Regions from separate parts of the Homo sapiens genome. Here regions 2 and 3 are each linked to region 1. The links are contacts of gene promoters, found by promoter capture Hi-C in blood cells and fetal thymus (Javierre and others, 2016). All regions are on one chromosome and are shown on one strand. The core of a region is centred on a gene start or on the middle of the fragment in contact, and the rest is flanking DNA. Distances in the headings are between cores, read along the strand shown. Region 1 holds the start of HSD17B10 (hydroxysteroid 17-beta dehydrogenase 10). Region 2 overlaps SMC1A (structural maintenance of chromosomes 1A). Region 3 has its middle 49 kb from the start of HSD17B10.

What was found. The method cuts DNA at HindIII sites, captures the fragments that hold promoters and counts their contacts. A CHiCAGO score of 5 or more calls a contact.
Region 2: a fragment that was not itself captured here is called in contact with the fragment with the promoter of HSD17B10 in region 1 in 1 of 17 cell types (monocytes); the score reaches 5.5 in monocytes.
Region 3: a fragment that was not itself captured here is called in contact with the fragment with the promoter of HSD17B10 in region 1 in 1 of 17 cell types (M2 macrophages); the score reaches 5.7 in M2 macrophages.

The regions. Positions count from the first base shown.
Region 1 is chrX:53,432,651-53,437,736 of GRCh38, forward strand. HSD17B10 (hydroxysteroid 17-beta dehydrogenase 10) reads right to left here and starts at 1,720. Exons shown (of 6, transcript NM_004493.3): 1 at 1,669-1,720; 2 at 1,072-1,236. The coding sequence starts at 1,695. The HindIII fragment of the contact is 11,572 bases long and covers 1-3,015 here.
Region 2 is chrX:53,373,299-53,378,384 of GRCh38, forward strand. It overlaps SMC1A (structural maintenance of chromosomes 1A), which reads right to left. Exons shown (of 25, transcript NM_006306.4): 25 at 851-5,086. Among named protein-coding and RNA genes, the nearest start is that of MIR6857, 30 kb to the right of the region's middle. The HindIII fragment of the contact is 1,444 bases long and covers 2,803-4,246 here.
Region 3 is chrX:53,480,577-53,485,662 of GRCh38, forward strand. No RefSeq gene overlaps it. Among named protein-coding and RNA genes, the nearest start is that of HSD17B10, 49 kb to the left of the region's middle. The HindIII fragment of the contact is 2,766 bases long and covers 1,728-4,493 here.

The DNA.
Region 1 (5,086 bases), core at 470-2,969:
ACCAGCCTGGCCAACGTGGTGAAAACCCGTCTCTACTAAAAATACAAAATTAGCCGGCATAGTGACACATGCCTGTAATCCCAGCTACTTGGAAGGCTGAGGCAGAAGAATCGCTTGAACCCGGGAGGCAGAGGTTGCAGTGAGCTGAGATCGTGCCATTGCACTGCAGCCTGGGCAACAGTGAGACTCTGTCCCAAAAAAAAAAATTGAGAGAGTAGGTCAAAGGTGAAAATATTAGGTAATATAGAGCAGTGTTGCAAAAACATTTTTCAAATCAATACCTTCTTGATAAATTCACATGCTCCTGAAGATTCTTAATTGCTGTGGATCAGAGCACTAATGCAACCCTGTTGTGAGGCTGGGTGCAGTGGCTCACACCTGTAATCCCAGCACTTTGGGAGGCCGAGGCGGGCGGATCACGTGAGATCAGGAGTTCAAGACCAGCCCGGCCAACATGGTGAAACCCCATCTCTTCTAAAAATACAAAAAAAAAAATTAGCTGGGCGTGGTGGCAGGTGCCTGTAATCCCAGCTACTTGGGAGGTTGAGGCAGGAAAATCGCTTGAACCCAGAAGATGGAGGTTGCAAGGAGCTGAGATTGTGCCACTGCACTCCAGCCTGGGCAACAGAGCGAGACTCCATCTCAAAAATAAAAATAAAAAATAACCCTCTTGTGAGAATTATTGATAGGAAGATAAACTAGCTTTTTTGTATCCTTACCTGCTAAGATGATTTCATCAAGTTTCACTTTCTGTAGTTTGTTTCATGAAAACAAGTTTTTTGACTTTGTAAATATAAAATTACAAGGCACAAAATGCATTTTCAAACCATACATAACTCCTCCAGGAGATTGTTACGTCCAATCCCCATCCTCATTGTTGTGAATCCCAGCTTTAGAGAATCCTTATCACAGGTGGTCCCACAGTGCTTGAAGGCTCAGGCCAAAAGAGACAAGGAGATGGGTCTACCGCCCCCATAGAGGAGACCCTTATGGGAGGGACCCCCACAGGTTCCCAGGCCGGTGTTGGTGACCTCATGCACACCCTGGGAGAGGAGAGGTGACCCCACTTACGTCGGCTGGGGCGAAAACGCAGTTGTTTCCTAACTTCTTGGCTTGGGCCTCCCCACCCGAGTTGGGCAGGTCCAGAAGCACAGCAGAGGCTCCCTGCCCCACAAGTCGCTCCGCCGTGGCCAGGCCCAGGCCCGAGGCTCCTCCGGTTATTACCGCCACCAGGCCCTGTCAAAAGGGACATGGTCAGGGTCAGCTGTTACATTGCCCAGACCATCCCCACGCTGTCGCCTGCCTGTTCTCCAGGCTTCTGAGGAGAAGGGGGGAGGGGAGAGGTCGTGGTCACCCCTGCGGGTAAACTAGGTGTGCTGCTTCTCCTCAGCGTTGGGACCTCGGGGGCAGAAGGGATCTCATCCCCAGACAGCCCGTCCCGTGACGATAGATAGATAGATGATTGATAGATAGATAGATAGACAGACAGACAGACAGACAGATGCGCCGCGGAGTGCTGACTTTCACCTCTTGAGCCCAACGGCCACAATACCAGGCCTACATAAGCATGACCCTTTCCCTCGAAACCGATCTCTTTCTCCTAGTTCCACGGCCGCGCTGTCCCGGCCCGTAAAGGAAGGCAAGCAACAGAGGCAAAGAACCTTCTACCTTCACGCTCCGACACGCTGCTGCCATCTTGTCGCCGGCCACTCCACGGGATGGGGATGGGGGCGCGGGCGCTCGTTGATTGGCCGAGGCGAAGCGGCGGAAGGGGCGGATGCGACGGGCCGGGGCGTCTGCCGCTGCCGCATGAGACGTGGGGGCGTGGCCTGGTACGCTAGTCCTTTGGCCAGAGGGCGGATTCCGCCTGCTAAGGTATCCCCAGAGTTATTTCAACTGGGGAAAGAGACCAATAGCAGAAGTACAATACCACAACACCCCTCGCCCTACTCTCTAGCTGGCCTTTTGGCAAGTGGCCTGCTCCGCGTGGGGGAAGAGGGGTGGATATTGAGAACGGATGCCTTTCTCCTCTGAAAAAGTCTTAATTCAAGTATGAATGTATTTGAGACTCCTATATGCTAGACGGTGTGCGGGGCACCTGGGATACCCAGCGGAATAATAAAAGATTCATGCCTTCCAGGAGGGCACAGTCCAGGTGGAGAAAGAGAATTACAGTACAGACACAGACGAATGGACGGAACCAGATTCTGGGACACTCAGACAAGGAGATCCAAAGATGAGGAGTCTGAGTTAGAGAGAGAGAGAGCCATGTAAAGAGAAATATGTTGAGGCCGAGATAGGAAGAGAGATGCCAGGTAGGATCACAGAGAGATGAATGTGGAAAGCCGCTAAGAGAGATGCTTGGAGACAGACATTCTAGGACAGCTGCTGAGAAGCACAAACCTAAAGAGGCAAAAACATCTTTCATCAGTTCAGGCTTTGCTACTCTCCTCTATCTTTGTCTAATTTAAGTCCAAAAGCCCAGATCACACACTGCAGATTGGACTTCAACCAGAGACTATTATTTAAGACCCAGGTCTTTGTCATCCTAGAACATCTTTCAGGCAGCTTCCAGAAGCTATGTCATTAGAGTCTTGAGCCCAGATATCTAATCTGTCTTCCTTCTATACTTTTCCTCAAACCAAGGTCTTCAGGCCATAAATCTTAGCCCACCATTTCAGCCTCAGAACTGCTTTATGTTTTCTCTATCTGAAATATCTCCCCCCACTTGCTTTCTCACCCAGGAAGATTCCCCTCCAGGCCTTCTAGTTGTTGACAGCCACCACACTCATAATCACTACACCGTATTTACCAAAGGATTTAGCACACCGGTCTCACAATTTTCCTATCTACATGAAGTGCTTCCATCAATTTATAGCACTCTTCATCCGGCCCAATATGCTGTAGCCACAGTGGCCTCCTTTGTGTTCATCTTTGCATTAGCTGCTCCCTCTGCTTGGAATGCTCTCCCCTGATCTTTGCATGACTGCTTTTATTTTTTTTCATTCAGAACTAAGCTTAAATATCACCTTCCCAGAGGGGTCCTCCCTAAATATTCAAACTGTAGCCACCTAGACACTATCCCATTGCATATTTGAATTATCTTCATAGCACTTGCATGTCCGTAATCCATTTTCCAACCTTAGGGCCAGATGTGCTGTGGAATTCAGAGTTTTTTTCAATTTGAGAAAGGAAGACATGTAATTTATATTACATAACTCTTTAAAAAAACTAGTCAAACATAACTTTTTGTATAGTCTATATTATATAACTATTGAGAAAAGCCTGGAGCATCGTAATGAAATATTAATATTTCTGAAGTGAAAGGTATGAAAATTCACACCAAGTGTGAATAAAGACTATAAATAGCCTCACACTACTTCAGGTCAGGTTTTGTCATCTATTGAGTTTGGGCTCCAAAGTATGAAAAAACAACCTTATGCTTTTCAGAAGTTTTGGCATTGCAGGATTGTGCCTACAGGCTTGTGAGCCTGCATGCTCCGCTAACCTGGCCTTGTTTGTGTAGTTCTCCCCCTGCTGGAAGGTAAGCCCCATGGCACCAGGGGCTTGTCCAGCTGGTTCACCTAATGCCGAGAACACTGCTTGGCGTGTACAAGACACTTAAAACAAATGTGTGAAATAAATGAATTAATGAATTAATCTTGGAAGAATTTCCAGGCACAGTTTCATGATTCTTTCACCTGCCCAACTCCGGGAACCTTCACCTCCTCTCTACTTTAACCACCTGTCCAGGCCACCTTATTGCACTTGTCATTCCCTGGAATAACCTCCTGCCCTCCCCAGCATCTACACACCATCTTTTCTCTCTCTGACCATGTTCTCGAGTTGTCTTGGATCTCTTCCCCTCTACCGCTTTTTTTTTTTTTTTTGAGATGGAGTCTCCCGCTGCCCAGGCTGGAGTGCAGTGGCGCATCTTGGCTCACTGCAACCTCCGCTTCCTGGGTGCAAGCAATTCTCCTGCCTCAGCTTCCAGAGTAGCTGAAATTACAGGCATGGGCCACCACGCCTGGCTAATTTTTGTATTTTTAGTAGAGATGGGATTTTACCATGTTGGCCAGTCTGGTGTTGAACTCCTGACCTCAGGTGATCCGCCCTGCCTCAGCCTCCCAAAGTGTTGGGATTACAGGCATGAGCCATCGCGCCCAGCCTCAGCTCTATTATTTACTAGCCGAATGACCCTGGACAAGTTACTTAACTGATGTGCCTCAGTTTCCTCTTCTGTAAAATGAGTATAAACAAATGACTATTCGTAGGGTTGTTAGGAATAAATGAGTTAACAACTATGTATTTAAAAAGGACTTGGAACAGTGCTTGGCCTTTAGCAAGAGCTATATAAGTGTTAGCTATGGTTACTCTTCAGAGCAGTGTTTCTCATCCTTTTCTATGCTACGGACACCTATGGGAGTCTGGTGAAGTCTTAGGAACCCCTTCCCAGAATAATGCATGCGTCCTATAAGTAGGATTACAAAAGAAACCAATTATATTGGGGTACAATTTTCAAAATAAAAGGAAACGCACCTGTAATGTAGTAATATATGTGCTTCTTTATTAACACATTAAATAGCAAGCTCTATCAACAGGTCTAGTGACAACCATGATTTTTGAAATAGTGATGTTATTTTGAGAGATATGCAACAACCGTAATAATGAAAATCTGATCTCTCTTAGTGTCAAAGTCACAGGTGCTAATATTACTGCAGTTTGTTACCCACATCCCCTGGAAGGATATGCTATATTTCTGTTAGTAATAGTGAAAATAATGATGCAATTTCCCCTCTATCCAAGTCCATGGGCTCTTTGAATTCTATTCACTGACTCCTCAGGGGTCTTTTGGATTGTGGGTTAAGAACTGTGTTTAGAGGGAGCTCTCTGAACTTCTTCTGGTTCTGAGGGCTGCACAATTAAAAGAACTGTTTTTAGAGCAAACGGAAGCCATTAGTGAATACTTCTCTCTTGCCACCTCCAAAATTGTCTCTACCCACCCACACCATCCTTTCCTTGGGTCTCAGAGATGTCCTGTTTAGGGCTCACCCTTCCACTGGGTTTTGTGTCCCAGCCCCTCCCA
Region 2 (5,086 bases), core at 2,275-4,774, 58 kb before region 1:
TCACCCCAGCTACCAGAGTGGTCCTCCTAAATACCAATCTGGCCCGGTTAGTCCCTTGCTTCAAACCTTTCTACAGCTTCCCATTGCTCAGAGTCAAAGCTAAGCTTGACTGCTTGGATTCCACCACTTCTCTCACTGCATGGGTGATGCCCCATTCCCCCTGAAATCCATGCACTTTCACCCTCTTGATTTAACTGTGCTTAGGCAGCTCCTCTGCTTGGAATGTTTTTTCCTCCCTTTCCAAGTGGTAAGCACTCATTCCTCTTTCAAGACTCAGTTCAAGTGTACCATCCTCTATAAAGGCTTTCCCACCCCAGGGAGAACCACCTAATACTTCCTATATGCTCACTTTGCCTCACCTAGACGTCCATTATATCATCTTCCACACTTAGTGTGCTTAACCACTTACTTATCTGAGTTCCCAATTAAGCCAAGAATTCCTGGAGGGCATGTATATCTAATTCCCAGAACCTAGCACAGGGCCTGACACATGACAGGAATTTAACATATGCCTGCTGAACAAATGGATGGAAAAATGATGCATGAGTGAATACAGGAAAGAGCAAATGAACTGGTAAATGCTTACATTAATGCATTAATGAATAAGTGAGTGAAGTTGTGAGTTAGTGCATATATAAGGTAATAAATAAATGAGTGGATGAATGAATGATAAAAATAAGTAAGTGAATGAAAGGTGCCCATGCCAGTGAGGCAGGAAAGGATGAGTGAATTCCCACCTCTGTGTCTTGCTTCAACCCCACCAGGAAGACCTCTTGCCCTGCTTTCCTGTTATCTAAACTGCACACCAGTGTTAACCTTTTAGATTCCAAGGAACAAAGACACACACAGGTTAGTGATGGGGATTTATTAAAGCATTCACAGGGAAATAAGGAAGACAAGAACAGCTACACAGGCAGCCTCATGGAAGAACAGAAACTTGAAAATGGTTCATGATCCAAAGCAGCTCTAGAGCCTGGCTTATCTTGTCACCCCCTCAGCTGCAGGCATCTGTTGCTCCCTTCTCTAGTGCTTCCCAAATTGGTGACTCAACTCCTTTCTGGCTGTATTTATACTCCTCCTACTGCTACTGACTAACTTCTTTCTGCCCCCCTCGATGCTAGCCCATGGCTTTTTCTGCCTCATGGGTCCTGCAGCTTCATGGCTCCCGGCGCTTCAGTTCCTATTAATCCATGGCTTTTCTGCATTGTAGCTCCTGCTGCCTCTTCCATTCCTGTTGCCATGTTGCCACATGGTTCTGGCTACCTTGTGGTTCTTGCAGTCTCATCGCTTCTACTGTCTCATGATCTTATCTATTCAAGCCTTCTGCTGCTTTGTGGATCTCATAGTCAGTTTTGTCTCACGGTTTCTGTTCCTCGTGGCTCCTATTGCTTCATGGCTTCTAGCCCATTGTTGCCTTGCTGCTTCATGGCTTCTGCCACCCTGTGGCTCCGTGATCTCATTATACAAATGTCTCATGACCTCTGCTTACTTATGGTTTCTGCAGCTTTCTCTTTGCTTTTGCTGTTTAGTTTCTGGCCACCCCTCATCCACCACCACTAATGCCTCATTAAATTCTAATTAACGTTCACTTCTTCTGAATAGCTCACATTCTGCCTCCCTGAAAGATCTGGTTGTTTCATACATTTGCCATTTGATACATGCCACCCCTGTAAGGTGAAGTCCTTATGCCAGTCCAGCTAACAGGCCACTGGCCAGCCTAGAGATTGGTTGCCCTTGAACCAGACACTATCCACATCTAGCTATCTGTGGCCAGGATTGTGAGGTCACATGGTACAGAGCATGGCAACTTATGCTAAGGAAACCCCTTAGAAGGGACTGCAAGCATGGCAGGTTTGCTAAGGGTTTCCAGAAGGGGGCAGTGTAATTGGCAACCATCTTGTTTGACCTGTCCAATACATTGACCTTCAAGGTTCAACCTAAGTCCCACCTTCTCCCTGACCACCTCTGCCTGTCCTGATCTACAATGGGATAGATCAAGATCAAGACTCCAGAGATGACATAGAAAGGAAACCTAGCTTCCATTTCTGGCTCCAACACTTCCTAGCAGTCGGACCTTAGGAAGTTAATTCCCCTCTGAGGACCTCAGAAGGGGTTTGGGCAGTCTTCCCTTACAAGTCTGACATTCTGGGTATCTCACTATAAGTTATTGTATAAGAGATGTGACTCTTACCTGGGAAAGCCCTCAAAAACATCTCTTGAGGTAGGAAAGAGGGAGTCAGAGTCCTGGCTTGGAAGAGCCTTACTGCACACTGGAGGTGCTTAGCCAAGATTTATTGAACTGGATGAATGAATCAATGGCTTGTGGAGGGGTGGGGAGTGGGGGGGCAGTGAGAGACCACACAGCACACAGAATGTCTAACTAACTTGAGGAATTCCAGTTGCTGAGGAGGATGTAAGCAGATTGTTTCAGAGATGGATAAGGAAAGAGATGACTGGGACAGGGTAGGAATCATGGCTATTCATGGGTACTCATTCTATCCTCTCAGTCACCCTCCACATCCAATAATCAGTCATTAAGTTATCATCTTACCTTAACAGTTCACACCTTAACACCTCCAATCTATTCCTACTGGCCTTTGCCCTAGTGCAGGCCTCCTGGTCTTTTTCCAGTCTCCTAGCTAATCTTGTCATCTCCATTCGCTCTCTCACAAATGGATTCACTCATGCATTCATTCATTCAAAAACTTTACTGGGTGCCTGTTTTGTGTCAGGCACTGTGCTTTTTTGCAGGGGCTATACTGGTAAGCAAAATATCCCCAGGCCCACCCTTGTGGTGCCTAAAGCTTATTCAGAGACAAAATAAGCAAATATAGTAGTGTAAGAAGCTGATTAACAGGGAAGCTACAGGCACGGGCACATACAGCATGAACATCTAACCTAATCTGTTTTCCATGCTGGTTGGCTAGCCAGCCAGAAACAGGTTAAGTTCACATCTGATCTGGAGTCCCCCTATTAAAAACCATTTCATGGCTCCCTCACTGCCTTCAAGCTATGGTTTCCAAATCTGGCTGTACCCTAGTCATGTGGTAACCTTTATAAGCATTCAAGATTCCAAATCTTCACCCCAGACTTAATGAATGTTTTAGGGGCCGGGGCCCAGAATGCCGTACCTGTTTGTGGTATACAGCCAGTTTGGGAACCACACTGTCCTACAAAACAAATCTGAATTCTGTAGCCATGCATTTACGACCCTCTTCCAATCTGGTTCCTCTCTACCTTTTCTTGCTGCTTTCCCCCCACCCCAGGAATCTTCATGCTTCAGTATTTGTTTTGCTGTTTCTTGCCTTCATGTCTTCATGCATACTGTTTCCAATATCTGGAAATTCCTTCTACTTCCTCAACTGGCTAATTCCTACCCGTCCCTCAAGACTCAGTTCAGGTATCACCACCTAGACTACAGGATGCCTTCTCTGAATCTTCACATAAGCTAGATGTTTTTCCTGTGCTCCTGTCAGTGTTGATCACACTGTATGGTTAATGGCTGTTTTACAAATGGTTTCCCCAACTAAACAGTGAGCTCCTCAAAGGCAGGATAAAGATTTGACTCATCTTTGTGTTCCTGGTGCACAACACTGTGATTTCCAGAGGGAAGTGCCCAGTTAAACTTAAGATACTGTTGTGGAGTACTCTTCAACTCCCTACAGCAAGGCTACTGCGTCCACAGTATAAGGGAGTCAAACTAGTTCCTCCAACAAGCCCTAGGGAATCTACTCGGATCCAGCTTGCTCTTGGAAACACTGTGGTGCCCAGCCTCCCGTGAGCATAGCCTTGACAACGGTTGCCCTGTGATGCCAGGAGGTGGTGGGGCACGACAGGAGAGAGCAGGGGGCAAGCACTAAATAGATCCGAGTGGAAGTCTAGGCTCTGCCACTAAACCAGTGGAATCTTGGACAAGTCACCTCACCTCCTGGATCCTCAGGACTTAAGTCCCCAAAGCTCCTTTGTAGCACATGTGTTCCTGTGTGCCAGGGCCTTAGCCTAAGGCATCTCATGTAATCCTTTTTATCCTGTGAGGTAGGGGTTAGTTATCTGGGTTATTATCCATGCTGGCTGAATCAGATTTCCAGAGGTGGGACCAGAGCAATTTATTTTTAAAGAGCTCCACATCCTTTGGATGTGGGGGTGCAAGCAGGGAACTGCTGCTTCTCATTATAAGCCCTTCTGTACTATTTTATTTTTTTACCTGTGTATATATTGCTTTACTTTTTAAAAAGGAAAAAGAAAAAGCTTTACAAACGATTCTGATGCGCAGCCAAGGTTGATAACCACCTGTACAGTGGAGAAAGCACTTGAATGACTTGGAAGACCTGGGTTCAAACCTTTTTGGGCCTCAGTTTCCTTATCTGTAAAGTGGGGAGAACAGCAAAGGTGACCTTTAAAGGGCTGTGAATGATCTAGATGCCAGCCAAATTGCTTCATATATATTTAATTTTCTCTTTGCTTCACTACTGCAAGGTAGGTGTTTATTATCTCCTTTTACAGATGTGGAAACTTAGGCTCAGAGGTGAAGTAACTTGCACAAGTTTCTACAGCTAGAATTTGAACCAGGTCTGACCCCCGAATTGTGCTCGTCCATAAAGGCCAGCATTTGCCAAATTATGGCACACAGTACCACCAGTGGTACGTGACTTCTTTGGTTGAAAACAGACAAATTTATTTTGTTTTGATAGTTATGTCTTTTAATATGTATTAGAAGAATACATAATTAGCACACATCAAACCTGTGATTTCACAGATATCACTACTTGGGATGAAAATGATATAGGATAACAATGTTAGACCTCAGATCAACCTCAAGAAAAATACTGAGTAAATAGTACAGGAGGGCAATTTGGAAGTATTATTAAAAACCAATATATAAATATCCTATGACTTTGCAATTCCACTTCTAGGAATCAACCCTAGGTAAACTTTCATACATATACTTTCACACAGGCATAGTGATGCTCCTGTGTAGTATTTTGTAATAGCAAAACCTAAAAACAGTCTTAATGTCCATCACAAAAGAAATGCGTAAGTAAAATGTGGTAATCATATGATGACAATCTATACAGCAATTACAGAA
Region 3 (5,086 bases), core at 1,861-4,360, 49 kb after region 1:
TAATATTGATATGGGAGTGGGGTAGGGAAGTGCTGGGTAGAGAAGGGTGGGTCCCTGGCTAGGGGTCCCACCCTGGGGTTGTGCCCACGGACCTAGGTAAGAACAGGCATTTCTGTTTTTATGCCCAAATGTTGCATTTCCCAAGACCACCCTGGCCTGTCACGCCCCCATCCTGCGCCTATAAAAACCCCGAGACCCTAGGGGGCACAGACACAAACAGCTGGACATCAAGAAGAGCACACCTGCAGAAGAGCACACCAACAGGCACCGGCAGATGCCGGCAGGCCATCAACTGGTGGAATGACACGGAGTTTGGCTGGGGGTTGGAGGAGAGTCTGGCTGCTGGGCGGCCCAACTCCAGGAGAAAACCACCTTCCCACTGTATCCCCCTTCTGGCCTCCCTATCCACCTTGCTGAGAGCTACCACCACTCAATAAAAAACCTTGCACTCTTTCTCCAAGCCCACATGTGATCCGGTTCTTCCAGTACACCAAGGCAAGAACCCTGGGATACAGAAAGCCCTCTGTCCTTGGGATAAGGCAAAGGGTCTAATTGAGCTGATTAACACAAACTGCCTACAGACAGCAAAACTAAAAGAGCATTCTGTAACACATGCCCACTGGGGCTTCAGCTGTAAACATTCACTCCTAGACACTGCCGTGGGGCTGGAGCCCCACAACCTGCCCATCTGCATGCTCCCCCTAGAGGTTTGAGCAGTGGTGCACCAAAGAAGCGAGCCACACCCCGCTCTCACACCCTGCTAAGGGGATAGGGAACTTTTCCCGTTTCAATATTTACATCTGACGCCCAATAAAAAATTATCAAGCATGCAAAGAAACAGGAAAATACAACCCATAATGAGGGGAAAAATAATCCACAGAACATGACCCAGAAATGATCCAGATGATAGAATGAGTAGAAAAAGGACGTGAAAACAGCTGTTATAAATATATTCCATACATTCAAGAAGGTATAGGAGCGGGGAATGGTGGCATGTGCCTGTAGTCCTAGCTACTCGGGAGGCTGAGGCAGGGGGATCATGTGAGCCCAGGAGTTTGAGGCTGCAGTGAGCTGTGATCACAGCTCTGCTGTACTCCAGCCTGGGTGACAGAGTGAGACCCTGTCTCTCTCTCTTAAAAAAAAAAAAGGCATAGGAAAGCATGAGTATGACTGAAATCGAGCACCAAAGGAAGACCCTTCCCTGTTGTCCCTGCACCCACCTTAGTTCAGGGTTGAGATCAGTCCTTGGAGAGAATACGGCTGTGACTCTTTGAATGGCAGAATTTGCTGGAAATCTGCTTGCTGGAACTTGCCAGAAATCCACCATCTAGAGTGCCAGTGAAAGCTGTTCATGGGGAGGTGTCTCACTGGAGGCACTCTGCCACAAAACTACCTGAGGGAGAGTGCCAGGGGATGTTGCTGGCTACTGGGTGCTGTTGGCTGCCCTGCACTACAAAAGCTGGAAAATGGAGAAGCTGTGAGTCCTTCAGGAGCCAGAGGCAAACTGCTACTAACCCATCTGATGGGGAATTCCAGAGGGAGGCTGCTGGCTACTGGGTGCTGCTGGTCACCACACACTGTGGGAGCCAGGCACTGGAGAAGTTGTAGGACTCTGTTGCTATAGAAAGCTGCAGACACTGCAGTAACCTGCAAAGTGGGCACTCCAGCACCGGGAAGCAAAACCTTTTTCCTTCTTGAAATGTCTCTCCAGTGCCCTCTACTGGCAAAGCTTCAGTGCCAGGTGGCAAAGGAAACAAGTAAAGGGACCAGATCTGTTTTCACAGAGCAGGCAGAAGAGTGAATTTGAAGCTGAGAGGTAAAAATTGGTAAGTGGTACAGTCCACCCCTTTGACTTCTTGGCTTTCATGTGCACATATTTGAATTCTTGTACAACAAAACAGCTTGGGCGAGGTGGGAGGATCATTCGAGGCCAGGAGTTTGAGGTTATAGTGAGCTATGATCCCGCCATTGCACTCCAGCTTGGGTGACAGTGCAATACTCTGTCTCAAAAAAAAGAGAATAACACAACTTTACTCCTACCCAACAAGATATAGCTATCCTTCTTACAAGGGAGGAAGTTGTTACCCTTTCACCCAAATGAGAAGACACATCACTTTCTGTATTAATTACTCCTCAAATTTAGCCATGGTCCTGCTGATATCCTAGTACCTAAAGAGTAAATTGTAAAATTACCTTCCAACTTCTTGTATATAAAATAAAAATGGGAAAAAGAGAAAAAGAACATGGCTAGATTATGCAAATAAACACATACATATAACAAGCAGAAGGCAAATGAGGAAAGGTAATATAGTACTCATTTCTGTAATTGATCTCAAGGCTGTAATTGACATCTATGGCTTCCTTCTTCTGTTATTATCCATTCTGCATTTCCCCTGCCTTCATTCAGAACCTCAGATGCTCTTTTCTACCTGAAGGAGTCACCCAAACTTTCATTCTGGAAGGGTCTGAGTACTTGATCATCCTGCCTGTTTTGAGTTACTAGAGTTTAACCTTTTAATGGAGTTTAACCATTAATCTTTACTATGGGGGCCAGGCACGGTGGCTCACACCTGTAATCCCAGCACTTTGGGAGGCCAAGGCAGGCAGATCACCTAAGGTCAAGAGTTTGAGACCAACATGGCAAAACCCCGTTTCTACTAAAAATACAAAAATTAGCCAAGCGTGGTGGCATGCGCCTGTAGTCCCAGCTACTCAGGAGCCTGAGGCAGGATAATCACTTGAACCCGGGAGACGGAAGTTGCAGTGAGCCAAGATCGTGCCACTGTACTCCAGCCTGGGTGACAGAGTAAGGCTCCGTCTCAAAACAAAAAACAAAACAAACAACAACAACAACAATAACAAAACTTTACTATTAGGCATGGAAGTACTAAGAGGCACCCCAGATAATTCTCCGGGTTGCAAACATGGTCCTCTTTGCCTCCCTTGTGTAGCAACAGCTCAACTTCCACTTGGTAATTAGGATCAATCACTCGAGCCAGTAAATTAAGTCTTACCTCATCCCCTTTTTTGGCTTGTGGTTTCATTGGCATAAGGAGCCCAAAATGTCACACATTTTTCACTTTCCAATTCACTGGAATTATTGTTGTGTCCCCTGGAAGAAACAGTCTCCCTTTGAGGACTAAGATCTCCAAACTAGCAAAGCTCAAAATTGCTGAGACAGGAAGCAAAAATTCTGTGAGTAGGTTATTAGTTGTAATAATGAGAGGAGCTACTCCTACTTCTACCCCTTGGTTTCAGGACCCATTTATTCTGGCTATGGGAGAGATAGTGCTGTATAATAGTCTCTAGCTCAAAGTATATATTACATTCCAAAAAATAGTATACCATTGTTTCAAGATGTTATTTCCCAACTGGCATCAAAACCAAGTTTCAGTAAGCCATTTCACCCTTCAAGTAGGCCAGCTACTCTAACATGATGTGGTATGTGGTAAGACCAGTTAATTCCATAGGCATGAGTCCATTGCTGCACTTACTTTGCTGCGAACCAGAAGCAAAGCCGTGCAGAAGAGTCTACAGATGGTAGTGCTGGCACAAGGATTATGGGCAGAGTAGGGAAAACTATATCCAGAAAATACATCTGTTTCTGTGAGACTGAATCTCTGTCCCCCTCCATGATGGAAGACTTCCAATGTAATCAACCTGTCACCAGGTGGTTGGCTGGTCCCCATAGGGAATAGTGCCATATCAGGGACTCAATTTTGGTTGATGCTGTTGGCAGATTAGGCACTCAGCAACCATGCCACCCTTGGTAAGGGGAAGTCCATGTTGTTGAGCCCAGGCATAGTCTCTGTCCCTGCCCATGGCCTATTTCTTTATGGGCCCATTGAGCAAATACTGGAGTGGCTGGTGAAAGAGGCTGATGCACATCAACAGACCACATCATTTTGTCCCCTGGATTCATAACAGTCTCCTATGCAATGTATGCCTTTTGGTGGGCATTCACATAGGACTCAAATATCTTCAGTCTGTCCCCACTCAGAGAAGGCTGGTCACATTTCTCTTCCTCAGACTTCCTTGTCGCCAATCTTTCAATCTTGTTCTTTTCAAGTCCCTAACTACATGTCAGTGTAGATCTATACTTCTGACTATCTCTTACTCCACACATAGTGGACAACTAAACATACTGTTCAGTGTTCTGCCCACTGGAGAGGATCTTCCTTCACCATTGTCATCCAGTCACCCCTGAGTACAGTTGTAGTGCTGCATCTGTCTACTTTTGGATGGTACCAGTATAACATGCAGACCCATATATAAGGTAGGCTTCAGTTTTCCTTCCTCAGTCAAGTGGTCATAGGAACACTCTGTGATATCATAGGCATGGATTGAAGGAGAGGAGGCAAAGCAACAGGAGTTGGTGTCAAAAGAGTCTGAATTATCTGCTCATGCAACTTACTTGTACCTACTGGACCTGCTCAACTTAGTCTTTTATGTACCATTTTCATCCAATAATAGATTGCTGCTATGCATGCCTAAGCTTATGGCTATGTGGGTCAAAGAAGACACCAGTTCATGATGAGAGTCTCAGGCTGTATGGTCACCTAATATCTCATGGTTAGGTGTTTCAATCTCTGCCAAGGCCCAGCAGTAAGCCAGAGCTGTTTCTTGAAAGGAGAATAGTTTTCTGCGAAAGAGAGCACATACTTGCTCTAAAGTCCTAGAGGCTTACCCTGTGATTCTCTCATTGGTGCTTGCTAGAAACTCCATACAATATTCTTATTTGTCACAGACACTTCATGGGATCTGCTGGGTCAAGTGGAAGAGCAGCTTGTATTGCAGTCTGAATTGCAGAGCTTTCTCTTGTCTGGTTCTATTCAAAACTGGGAACCTTGGGTGATTCTATAGATGGATTTGAAGTAGCACACTCAGGCCAGGCATGGTGGCTCAAACCTGTAATTCCAGCACTTTGGGAGGCTGAGTTGGGTGGATCACTTGAGGTCAGGAGTTCAAGACTAGCCTGGCCAACATGGTGAAACTCCGTCTCTACTAAAATACAAAAATTAGCCAGGTGTGGTGGTGGGTGCCTGTAATCCCAGCTACTCGGGAGGCTGAGGCAGGAGAATCGCTT